Regions from separate parts of the Homo sapiens genome. Here regions 1 and 2 are each linked to region 3. Evidence: promoter capture Hi-C in 16 types of primary human blood cells and fetal thymus (Javierre and others, 2016). All regions are on one chromosome and are shown on one strand. The core of a region is centred on a gene start or on the middle of the fragment in contact, and the rest is flanking DNA. Distances in the headings are between cores, read along the strand shown.

What was found. The method cuts DNA at HindIII sites, captures the fragments that hold promoters and counts their contacts. A CHiCAGO score of 5 or more calls a contact.
Region 1: the fragment with the promoter of MAK here is called in contact with the fragment with the promoter of EEF1E1 in region 3 in 1 of 17 cell types (non-activated CD4 T cells); the score reaches 7.2 in non-activated CD4 T cells.
Region 2: a contact is called between a fragment that was not itself captured here and the fragment with the promoter of EEF1E1 in region 3, in 1 of 17 cell types (naive CD8 T cells). The highest score is 6.6, in naive CD8 T cells.

What each region holds. Positions count from the first base shown.
Region 1 is chr6:10,836,790-10,840,861 of GRCh38, forward strand. It overlaps MAK (male germ cell associated kinase), which reads right to left and starts at 1,750. Exons shown (of 15, transcript NM_001242957.3): 1 at 1,714-1,750. RefSeq lists a silencer at 1,813-1,942 and enhancers at 2,163-2,222, 2,273-2,432. The HindIII fragment of the contact is 3,144 bases long and covers 583-3,726 here.
Region 2 is chr6:10,742,629-10,746,727 of GRCh38, forward strand. TMEM14B-DT (TMEM14B divergent transcript) reads right to left here. Exons shown (of 2, transcript NR_187231.1): 2 at 696-1,686. Among named protein-coding and RNA genes, the nearest start is that of TMEM14B-DT, 2.9 kb to the right of the region's middle. The HindIII fragment of the contact is 1,550 bases long and covers 664-2,213 here.
Region 3 is chr6:8,099,575-8,104,199 of GRCh38, forward strand. It overlaps EEF1E1 (eukaryotic translation elongation factor 1 epsilon 1), which reads right to left and starts at 2,974. Exons shown (of 4, transcript NM_004280.5): 1 at 2,861-2,974. The coding sequence starts at 2,947. EEF1E1-BLOC1S5 (EEF1E1-BLOC1S5 readthrough (NMD candidate)) reads right to left here and starts at 3,021. Exons shown (of 7, transcript NR_037618.1): 1 at 2,861-3,021. RefSeq lists silencers at 2,373-2,558, 2,767-2,886, 3,027-3,226. The HindIII fragment of the contact is 8,997 bases long and covers 1-4,625 here.

The DNA.
Region 1 (4,072 bases), core at 500-2,999, 2.7 Mb after region 3:
AAACTTGGAATTTTCTACAATCAAGCTATAACATTTATTGACCTTCCTATGGGTTAAAGAAAAAGATGCTTATTTAGAGGCTTAATTATAGACCTACACAAAAATAAATACCCTTATAATTTATCTCTCATTCTAGTTTTCAACTTTTTAATCTAAGTTCATAATTACCGTTTCTCTAAGTGCACAATTGTTGTAAATATAGCCTTTACTCTCAACAGCTTTTGCCAGCTAATAAGAGATTCAGATAGGATTAAAGAAGATTAGCAAAGAGGGCAAATGAAGGGTAAAACAAGCGTCTGCCAAAAACTGAAGAGATAAGGCTTGGATGTCTTCAACGTGGCTTTCTAGAACATATTATGTCACTCCGAGGCTGGCTTAACGCTTCTAATACACAACAAAAGAGTAATTAACGTTTTAAAAGTCACCAAACTCTTTAAAAAGCAACGCAGGAAAAAAAGATCCCAAACTAACCAAGTCGAAGTTTTACAGAAATTAAATGAGCTATTACAATGGGAAAACAAAGACTGTATCTTAAAATATAAAAGCACAGTTCTCTGTGCTCATATTCACAAATTATTTCAAAGCTTATACACAAAAAAAGTCCACCCCGACGAAGAGATTAAACGTCCTGCCCGGTGCCTGCAGTGGAAGCAGGCGGTGGCGCGGTTGGGGGAACTTTCTCCCTCCCGGTCAAGCCTCGGGAATTGAAGGGCCGGGGAGGCGGGGCCCGATCGAAAAGCTGGAAAGTCACTTTTGTTTTCACCATTATTTCACTTAATGGGTTGTGTTTCTGAATAAATAAAGTCAGATAACTTTGGCTTCCCTCTTTGAGAATTCCGTTATCATTAGAACAAATGTCTGTTTCTTTTAAACGATTATCTAACCACATTTGCATACAGCTCTTTCCTTGTAGGATTGAGATTACTAACCACTAAAAACCAGTTTTATTGCTCTCGACACCGCACTCTCGACCTGTCCCTAAATTAAAACGGATTACTTGCAGAAAAGGGACAGTTTTCGTCACACACTTTCTGATCCGACTCTGCAAACCAGGGCTCTTAAAAGGCTCCAGGGACCGCGTGGTGGAAGGAGGGGGCGTCCCCGGGCGCCGGGAGTCCGGCGCCGTTGGGGGGGACGGGGGTGTGCGGAATTCCACTTTCACCTGAGCGTCCTTTGGGATGCACCAGCGAGGGCTGGAGTCGGACCTAATTCCTGTTTTTCTCCCTCCTTTTAGATTTTGCAACAGTTCTGAACTCAGTTCCGCTGCCTCCCTGAGACCCAATCCTGCCTCTCTGTCCTAAAAACAGTTTCCACCGCCAGCCCAAGCAGCAGGGGAGCAGAGGTGGGAGATCCCGGAGGAGAGTTTAGGGGCGGGGGTCTCAGGCTAAGGGACGCCCGGCCGTCATCCTCCCACGCCAGGCCGGCCCCCGCGGTCCAGGAGGCGGGAAAGTGGTCAAGAGGTCTGGGAGACACCGACCGCCTTCCCTCGGGCTGACCACTCCCGCCCGCTCCGCCCCTCCGGGGACCCTCCTCCCTCCAGTCCTTCCCCTACCGGCGTCAGGGACCGGTCTCCGGGCGGAGATTGGCCCTGGTAGCACAGGGCGCCGAGGGGACATGCCCGGCCAGCCTCGCAGGTCGGGCTCCGGCTGGGTCGGACAGAGGGTGGTGGCCCTGCAGCCCGCTGGGGATTACCTGTCCGCGCCTGCTGCTTACCTCGTTCGCTCCCTTGTGAAGCTCCGGCGTCTTGTGTGTTTCATCTCCTAGGAAACGGCGGGGGCAGCAGGCGGGCCTACGGCCGGCCCAGAGAGGGCGTGGCCTCGCGGGAAATCCCCGCCAATTCCCGCAGGCCCCGCCTTCCCCGGGGCGGGGCTTCATGGAGCCGGGGGACTGTCGGCTGAGCTGCAGCAAGTGTGCCATTTAGACTTGGGGTTTAGGGGAGTTGATTACCTTTTCAGTCAGGTCTTTGTCAGAAGTTGGTTTGTTTGCCCTTTATTTTGTTTTGGTTTTGTTCCGATTCATTCTACAAAGTCTTGATTAATTAAAATATGGTTCCCAGACCGGGCAGAGCAAGAGAAGGAAGTCTGTTTGCCTCATACTTGCACTTGTTTACTTGTGCCTGGGGAAAAACTGTTCTTGTATGCAGTTCCTTAAATTGGTCAATTCCTTGGGTATGTATTACCTCTTGAGCTGCCCTTCTAAGTTTGTTTCCATTTATTCATTCAGAGAACCTGCCTAGTATCAGCCACAGAGTTAGATAGTGGTAATTCCAAGAAAAATGACTGAATGTGTGAATAAATGGGTAAATTGTAACTAGTCTAGAATTTAGAGAGGAAGGCACACTTGTGTTACTGCAAATAGTTCAGATTGGCTGGCAAAAAGGGTCTACGAAACAGAAACATAAGTGATGAAGCAGTGGTGCGGCAAGTTAGTAATTATTAGGTGTCAGGATGTGGGCTTGGGACCAAGAATAGCGCCAAGGTAGACACGACAGACATGCCTGTGGCCCTCACAGCTTAAAGTGAAGTAGGCTTTCACGCGTATGTTTATGGCAGCACAATTCACAATTGCAAAGATGTGGAACCAATCTAAGTGCCCATTGACTAATGAGTGGATAAAGAAAATGTGGTATATATACACCATAGGCTGCTACTCAGTCACAAAAAAAGAATGAAATAATGTCTTTTGCAACAACTTGGAAGAGTGGGAGGTCCTTATTCTACGCAAAGTAATACAGGCGTGGAAAACCAAAAACTGTATGTTCTCACTTATAAGCAAAAGCCAAGCTATGAGTATGCAAAGGCATACACAGTGAAATAATGGACTTTGGAGACTCAGAAAGGGGAGGATGGGAGAGAGCCTAGGGATAAAAAAAACTATGCACTAGGTACCATATACACTACTCAGATGATGGGTGCACTAAAATCTCAGAATTCACCACTATATAATTCATCTATGTAACAAAAAACCACTTGTACCCCAAGAGCTATTGAAATAAACATTTAAAAACAGACGGGGCTCAGTGGCTCATGCCTGTAATCCCAGCACTTTGGGAGGCCCAGGTGAGTGGCTCACCTGAGGTCAGGAGTTCAAGACCAGCCTGGCCAACATGGTGAAACCCCATCTCTACTAAAAATACAAAAAATATCTGGGTGTGGTGGCACATGCCTGTAATCCCAGCTACTCGGGAGGCTGAGGCAGGAGAATCACTTGAACCCAGGAGGCAGAGGTTGCAGTGAGCGGAGAACGTGCCACTGCACTCCAGCCTGGGTGACTGAGCAAGACTCTGTCTCAAAATAATAATAATAATAAATGGCCAGGCGCGGTGGCTCATGCCTGTAATCCCAGCACTTTGGGAGGCCGAGGTGGGCGGATCACCTGAGGTCGGGAGTTTGAGACCAGTCTGACCAACCTGGAGAAACCCCATCTCTACTAAAATGCTAAAACTACAAAAAATTAGCCAGGCGTGGTGGCGCATGCCTGTAATCCCAGCTACTTGGGAGGCTGAGGTAGGAGAATAGCTTGAACCCAGGAGGCGGAGGTTGCAGTGAGCTGAGATCACACCATTGCACTCCAGCCTGGGCAGCAAAAGCAAAACTCCGTCTCAATAATAATAATAATAAATAAAAGATTCATTGCTCTCCAATAAATAAGTGAAGTAGGCAGGCAAAGTAAAAAGCATAAGTTAGATAGGTCATAGCAGCTTTATATACCCAGTTATGAAGCCTAAGCTTTAACATGTGTCAATGAGGAAGACCAGTGAAGAATCTCCCACAGAAGAGTGACATGTTCACATTTGCATTTCAGAAAGATCCCAAGAGGAGCAGTGGGTAGGGTGGATTTGAGCTGCAAGTCTGGAGGCAAGAGAAAGATTGGGAGTCTTTCTCCCAACTGACTGGGAAGAAATGATAAGGATCCAACTCTAGCAGTGATGATGGAAATAGGACAGAGAAAGACAGAATTCAAGGGATGTTTAGGAGTTAAAATCGGCAGGACCATCAGGCTTAGATGACTGGTGGATAGTGGTATCCATGACCAAGTTGGAAAATAATAGAGGAGGAGCTGATTTAGGGAT
Region 2 (4,099 bases), core at 189-2,688, 2.6 Mb after region 3:
CGAAGTCAGGAGTTTGAGAACAGCCTGGGCAATATGCTGAAACACCTGTCTCTAGTAAAAATAAGAAAATTAGTAGGGCATGGTGGCATGTGCCTGTAATCCCAGCTACTTGGGAGGCTGAAGCAGGAGAATCGCTCAACCCGGGAGGCAGAGGTTTCCGTGAGCTAAGATCGCGCCACTGCACTCCAGCGTGGGTGACAGAGCAACACTCAGTCTCAAAACAGAATTCTTCATGGGACATTTAACTGAAAGGCTTAAACTGGCTTAAGTCTATTTTAAGACACGGGGTCTCTGTCACCTTTTGCAGTGGCATGATTATAGCTTCCTGCAGCTTTGAACTCCTGGGCTCAAGCAATCCTCCTGCCTCAGCCTCCTGAGTAGCTGTGACTACAGGCATCCACCATCACACCCAGCTAATCTTATTTTTTTTGTAGAGACTGGGTTTCATCATGTTGGTCAGGCTGGTTTCGAACTCCTGACCTCAAGTGATCTGCTTGCCTTGGCCTCCCAAAATATTGGGATTACAGACATGAGCCACTGCGCCCAGCCAGAGGGTGTTTTTTTAATGTGGCATTTGAAAATAAAAAGTTGGAATATACATTTGTTTTTGGGAGTATTCAATACTTTTAAGGAAGATTAATATGTTTGTGAAATACAGGGGAAAGCTTTTAGTACAAGTTAAGTATAGATAAATCTTAGTTTTTAAAACATAGGCAGATTTTATTAGATGTGTTAAGTAGTAAGTAGAACATGTGTTAGACACAGAAAGGAATAGAAAGTCCAGGATACCTAACATTCCTAGCTACCAAGTATACATGAGACACCTGAGCATGAAATATTTGATACATTAAATGTCCAAGAGGCACTAAATACAGTGCATAAAATATACATAAGCATGAAATAGTCATGCTATTCACTTCTGTCCCCAAGTGTCCTCTGTCCAAGAAACACAGTAAAACCCATGGTTGCTCCACAGGCCAACAGGCAAAGCTCAGCTCTTTGCTAGGCTTGCTTGTACCTGCATCTCGGACAGAGCAAGTTTGTGTCATTGGCGTGGGGCACCTTGCCTCTTTGAGTCTCCTTGCTCAAACCTGTCGTCTTCAGCACCACGATCCACAGGAAAGTCAATATCACAGAGAGGGGTGGAGGTTGGGGCAGGTGGGGGATGGTGGCCCCTGAACATTGTATGAGGTAGGCTTTAGGTAGCAGGCATCTTCCACCAGATTTGCACCGTCTCTTGACAGCGTTTACTTATCCCATCTCTTTCCTCTTGCTTTTCACTGTCTCTTTAAATTGATTTAAATAAACTAAGAGATTCAAGCATTTTAATTTGATCTGTGAGCTTTTCTGCTCACTGATCTCTGAGGTAGTATACCTGGAGGCCATCGCATTTCCCACATGATAACAATTCATATCAAAATACGGAATCCATTTGGGGAAGTCAGGTAGATTGCTTCCCTTTTCTTCCTGAGAATGGATAGTCTGCATATAGTCTTAGCCGTCCATGTGTTGAATGATCAACTTTTCTATTTATGTAGAACAGGTTTTAATCACACATACACTCCTTCCTGATACAATTCCCCATGTGTAAGCATCCATCTCCACCTTCCTTGCTCCATTGTTTATCCGACAGCCATGAAGTGAGTGCTCACCATGTGTGCCAGGTGCTATCCTAGATTCTGAGGGCTAAAAGGAAAAACACAACCCTTCTGAAAGACACAGCTTTGGTAAATAAATTAACATATTGAATGCAATGGCCTGGGGCAGTCATGGGCAGCTTGACTGATTAGTGAAATGTTGAGTTTTTGAATGACACAGGGCCCATGATGTCAACTCAATTTTTCATTTTTCTTTTCTTTTTTTTGGAAATGGAGTCTCCCTCTGTCACCCAGGCTGGAGTGCAGTAGAGTGATCTCGGCTTACTACAACCTCTGCCTCCTAGGTTCAAGCGATTCTTCCATCTCAGCCTCCTGAGTAGCTGGGATTACAGGCGTGCACCATCACACCCGGCTATTTTTTTTTTTTTGTATTGTTAGTAGAGACAGCGTTTCACCATGTTGGCCAGGCTAGTCTCGAACTCCTGACCTCAGGTGATCCATGTGCCTCAGCCTCCCAAAGTGATGGGATTACAGGCGTGAGCCACCGCTCACAGCCTATTTCAGATTTTAAAAGACTCTTCACTGCAAGAAACAAATGCAACTCTGGATGTCCTAAGCTTCAACAGAGGACGTGGGGGTAAGTACATGAGAAGGACACAGGTGTATCTGGCTGAGGCCAAGGCAGGAAGAACCAGAGCCAGGGTACAGCCAGGGCAAACTGTACATGTGGCCTTTGTTCTCCTGTCTGCCGACCACCCCTCTCATTTCTCACTCCACATCTACTTGTCCATTCAACACATGTTTACTGAGTACTGGTTATGGGCCAGGCACTGTGCTAAATGCTGCATAAATATCATCACTCCCATGAAACAAACATGCAAAAAAGGGGGAGGTAGGCTCTACGATGATTAAGCCAGTTACAGAGCAGGTTAGCAGGGAATTGTCATGGAAGGAAAGATGCTGTCGGGGGAAATGCAGATGAGTTGAAGTTTTAAATCAGGTGATTAGGGAAGGTCTCTCTGAGAAGTGACATTTGCGTAAAGACAGAAAGGAGGAGAGGGCGTGAACCAGGAGATTGTCTGGGGAGGCGTTCCAGGCAGATGAAGCAGCTGAGGGCAAGAAGGAAACACAAGTGAGGGGGAAAGAGAAGATGCTGATGTCAGGGAGGAGGATGTGTGGGGCTTTGCAAAGCACTGCCTGAGAAAAGGGGTGCCACCAGAGGGTTTTGGGGAGAGAAATGGCACAGTCAGACTTCTAACCCAAGTGCTCTGGTCACTGTGTTGAGAACAGACTAAGAGACAGAAAAAAGACTCTTCACTGCAAGAAACAAATGCAGAGTTAGGACAGCTCTGCCATTTGCTGTGTGACCTTGTAGTCTGTGCCTCAATTTCTTCCATGTGTAAAGCAGGAGATAATCATAGTCGTCACTGCACAGAGTTGGTATGAAGTGTAAGTTAGTTAACATATGTAAAGCGCTTCCAACAGTGGCAGATAATAAGAACTGCATATGCTTCTGCTAATATTTTTATGGCTCCAATGAATATGATCCAGAAGTAGATGGCAGATAGGTTAGGTTAAGAAAATAGGCGGTTTTTTTTTTATGATTTCATTTATTTCTTGGGGAAAGAGTTATTGACCTTGCTCTTCAAACAAACCTATAAAATACTCCCAAAGATGTAGAAATTGGTATTGTAGACACTTGATAGACATGAATTACCTGGGCAGACTGCAACTTGGGATTTGTTTTTGACGTTTTTGTTCAGGGACTTCTTAATTTGTAAAGTCAACACATTCAGGCTCCAAAAATGCTAAACTAATGCTTACATTGAAGCTCAATTCCCTTTCTTCATGAGCTCTTGTGTTGTGGGAGATGATCTCTACTGCTCTTGCTGTGTGAGTACACACCTGTGTGTGTACCTGTGTTTGTCTACCAGACACAATTCTTACTCAAAGCCTCTTTGTGGGAAAAACAAAACAAAACACCCAAACCTACTGATAGGCCTCAGTGACCAAAGACTAGAAACTTAACATTCCCTGACATAATTTTGATTACACCCTTTTGACACATTTGTGTTCCAGGGTTCCGATAATTCAGTGGGCCCCCAGTGAAGAGCTAAGCTATCTCCTAACAACGTTAATGCCAACTAGAAATATTCCCAAACACAAATCATTGATTGTTTTACTCTGGTACTAATTGAAATAGAGCAGAAACCAATTTCTTTAATTTATTTTATGACATGTTTTGATGGACTTTACCTACACAGAAGAGCTATGTGTTCTGGTTGAGGAACGACACTGCAAGAAGCAGCATATGGTAGAATTAAGGACGCAGGCTTTGACATTAGACCTTACTTTAAATAATAGCTCTACCAGTGACCAGGACTGTAGGTAATTTAATTCTCTGAGGTTCAGCCTCTTCAAGTATAAGGTGGGGAAGGGCTCGAGGATCATGGTGGATGATCCTAATTAAGGTTTGAGGCTTGCACCTGCATAGGGAAGAA
Region 3 (4,625 bases), core at 1,724-4,223:
CGTCTCTACTAAAAATACAAAAATTAGCCGGGCGTGGTGGCACATGCCTGTAATCCCTGCTACACGGGAGGCTGAGGCAGGAGAATCCCTTGAATCCGGGAGGCAGAGGTTGCAGTGAGCCGAGATCGCACCATTGCACTCCAGCCCGGGCAACAAGAGTGAAGCTCCGCCTCAAAAACACACACACACACACACACACACACACACACACACACACAAAAAAAAAACAGAACCCTCTATAATGTTCACACATGATGAAACTGCCTAACAATGCATTTCTTGAAATGTATCCTTGTCTTTAAATAACACGTGACTGTATGTCAATGTGTTGATGTACCATAATTTAAAGAATCAATATCCTAGATAAGGATCTCTGAACTGCTTTCAATTTTTAAACTATGATTGGTAATGTTGCAGAGAATGCCTTATTGCTGGCTCACTGCTGTCAGCTGTCTTCTCAAAAAATGGCTGAATCTTATCACATATGGCCAACCCTTTCCCCATACAAGTAAACAGAAACTTTCACTAGCTGCTAACTGCTAAAATGCTTTAATTAAAATTAAATTAAAAACCACACTCTGAACTCGGAAGTCTTCACAGTTGGGCCTCAAACTGTAATTTGGGGTTTACCTTGCATTGCATCATTCCTCATATTGGTTTACTTACTGCCCTAAACTTCCCAATCCTTCATAATTTATTGGTTTTACACATCTTTCAAAGCATAATCCCTTAAATGCCAGCTCTTCCATGAGTTTATACATCCACTTTTATAGTCAGAATTAACTTCCTTTTTCACACTCCTCAACAGTGTTTTGCTCCATATGGAGTCCTAATTAGGGAAAAGAAGTCAGGTTGAGGGGACCAAGGGAAAGCAAAAAGAGAAGGGCGATAAGCTACAAGTCTGCCTTTCTTCATGGTCCAGGACACAGCCCTTCTGCACAAATAACTCAACAATCTTTCCATGTCCAGCTATCACCGGACCTTCGGCTGATAGAAAACTCAAGTTAGCTCACTGCAACCTTGGTGTTATCAGTACTGCACAAACCCCTCTTCAGCACACAACTGAAGTACTATTCCGTAAAATCCCCAGCCAGCCTTTGTTTCCTTGCAGTTAGCTCCTCTCTTACTAACTTGCCTGTTGCACTCTTGCAACATATTTTCATACTTTCTCTAATAAATCTGCTTTTCTTTACGTACAGCTGTCCTGGTAAATTCTTACCCTGGCGCCACCAGCCCCAGAGAGTTGCTGCTCACCCACGACAGTCCATGAAGTGCTTACTATGTTGTGCTTTAAATTATTTGCTGATGATTGTTTCTCATACTAGATAATACTCATATCTTGGCAATGGTCCCTAAAAAATATAAACTAGGCCAGGCACAGTGGTTCACGCCTGTAATCCCAGCACTTTAGGAGGCCAGGGCATGTGGATCACCTGAGGTCACCAGTTCAAGACCAGCCTGGCCAACATGGTGCAACCCGGTCTCTACTAAAAATACAAAAATTAGCTGAGCGTGGTGGCGAACACCTGTAACCCCAGCTACTTGGGAGGCTGAAGCAGAAGAATCGCTTGAACCCGGGAGGCAGAGGTTGCAGTGATCCGAGATCATGCCATGGCACTACAGCCTGGGCGACACAGTGAGACTTTGTCTCAAAAAAAAAAAAAAAAAAATATATATATATATATATATATATATATATATATATATATGGCACTCTTCCAATTTAAACGGTTGCAATGTTTGTCCACTCGGCCATATATATTATATTTATACTACATATATATTATATAATATATACACTAAGCTAGGGAGTAGGGGCCGAAGGGACGGAATTATCACTGGGGCAGAGGAAACACCAAAAGAAGGCCACTTTGGCTCCAACGCCTACTCTGCCACCAATCACAGGGCTGATCTTAGGCTGAACACTTAACCTTTCTAGGCTTCAGGTTAACTTAAATAAAAACTATACTACTACTTTCTAGACAAGATCTTCACATGGACCAAATGAAGAAGAGAAAAAATTAAAGACAAAAACCAAACATCATTTGGAAAAAATCTCAAAGGAGCAAAAAAAACATATATCCAAAGTAGTCTTCCTACAACCAATTTCCTTCTCTAATACATTCCTTCTACGACAAACAACTATAAAACACAAACGTTCTAACAGTGCCTAACCAGGCAATCTCATACCTTGTGATGTTTCCCGCATTCACTGTGGGTCGTAACACTTAAACTGATAATCCAAGGCTTTAGAAACGCCTTCCCCGAATCCCCTAGATTGGGCCAAGACTCCTTAGGTGTTCTCTCTGCCATTTATGGTGCAACGTGGCACTCTTCCAATTTAAATGGTTGCAATGTTTGTCCACCTGGCCAAAAAGCAAGCTGCCTGAGAGGAGGAAGCATGTTCCCCTAAATCATCATTGTATTCCCCAGACCCAGCACGGTGCTACCTGGCACCCTGTTAGCTATAACGGAGTCGCTGCGCAATAACTGAATGAAAGGTGCGATTACGGGAAAAAAAAAAAAGCCAGTTACTGAATACATTCCAGGTTGGTCTAAGAGCCCTGTGAGGACCCTCCTCCAACTGGTTTTGTTTCCTCATAATGGGATGATGACAATTTCCCAGGAGGTGAAGTTCAGGCCAAGCCCAACCTGAGCTGGTTAACCCCTCCCTCCAGGAGGTAGGATGGCAGGGGCCGAGGCCCAGAGGCGCCAGCCGGCTAGCGGCGCAGACACGTGGGGAGCTGGGTAGCAGCATCCTCACTCCGCCCGTATCTGGTGGCCGGCCCGGGTCCTGCCAGGGCTCGGCAGGCCCCGCTCCCGTCCACCTCTTCCCCTCCGCGCCGCCTCTCCTTCTCACCTGTCGCTCGCCCTGAGCACTGTATTTATTCCCCTTACTCAGTCCCAGGGACTTCTCCAGTAGCGACAACTCTGCGGCCGCCGCCATCTTCCGGCCGTAGCTCCTGGCAGACGCGAGACCTGCAGAACAAGAACCTCCCGCATTGGTGGAAACAGAAGTCCCACTCCTGCAAACTTCAGCGGCGATTGGCTGAACGGAAGGGGCGTGGAGAGCGCGCGCCAAAGCACAGGAGGCGGGGCCGGTGGAAGGGGCGGGGCTGAGGGCGGGGTGTGAGACAGGTGGAGAAGTGATGGTAAATTTCCACTCGAACTGTTGGGGAGCTAGTTACTGGTAGAAAGGCCCCAAGGCCGGGCTTCGGTGGCTGCAGTAGACTGGATCTGGATCTCTAAATGGCAATCTATTGACATGGCTGCCAGCGGTAACTCGTTAACTCATTTGCTAGTCTAAGAGAATTTATATATGATGGGAACTGAAATTTGCCTTAGTTTGGTTCAGGAATCTGTAAATTTGAACAATCAAATTGAATAGCAAAAAGTTCACAGTCCATTAGGAGTTTCTAACGTGTAGCATAATTCATGAGGATTTTAATTGTGTTGTAGTGGTGAATTCGAAAAACTGGTTTTTCTACTGTTGATCTACAGCTCAACACTAGCAGTAGAATTATACATTTAAAGATTATTCACAGAACACGGAGTATGTCAGATAGGGGTCAAATAATTACAGCTCAAGGAAATAAGCCATTAATGGCATTAATGATCTTTTTTTGCAGTACCAGAAGGCTGGTTACATAATTTATGAAGTTTTGGTATATAAATAAACAAGGTGCATAACTTTGCCCCACTAACTTGCTACATTCTTGTATCTTCAAAAAAGAAAGAAAGGAAGAAAGAAAGAAAATTAGTAGTATATGTTGAATATTTCCAAAAGATTTGTGAAAATACAAAATATTTTCCACTTTGAAGAATGAATAAACAAAGTGTGTATTAGTCTGAGAGAAATAGAACAATCCTACAAGGTAACTCATCATTGAATCAGAAATATCAAAGTTTAGTGGGGAATGTTGTTACTGTGTTACACCTTCCCTATCCCAGAATACTTAATGAGTTTACTCTGTCAGCAGAAGTAAACATAAGGAAAAGAAACTTTTGCCAAATCAACATAACAAAATACAAAAGAAATTTCAGTATAAGTGGATTGTTAGGCACTAAATTATCTGTTTTACTTTCCATATTCAGATAATGGAATGACTATTCTACTACTTTTTAAAAGACCAACCCTCTAAGATAATTCACATATCCATTTTCAGGGTTTAGGTACACTTTTTGCTTGTAATAAAACATTTTTTAAAAAAATTAACATTTATCCAATGCCAATGGGTGGTATATTGAAAATAAGGTTTGGCCTTTGCATAATTATAGAAATATCAAATTAAAAAAGAAATCCCTAAAAAACTGAAAGCAGAACAAAGCATATTGTACATCAAATTGATGACATCATCACCCAGTGTGGACCTCTTTTAAGTGACTTTATAGCACAGTCATTTAATTGTATACTCTTAGTAAGATATGCTTTAAGGACAAAATTCATGAAAACCTGTTTTTGGTTCTTTTTGTTTGTTGGTTTGGTTAGCATCTTGGCAGTGTCAGCATTGGTATGGTGCTGTATATGTACTGTGGAATAAAGCAAAGATGCAATCATGTGGTGTTGCTGGAAAGTTGGGTGTTTGGTGTTGCCCAAAAGAGGAGTTGTAAGGTAGATGAGGTTA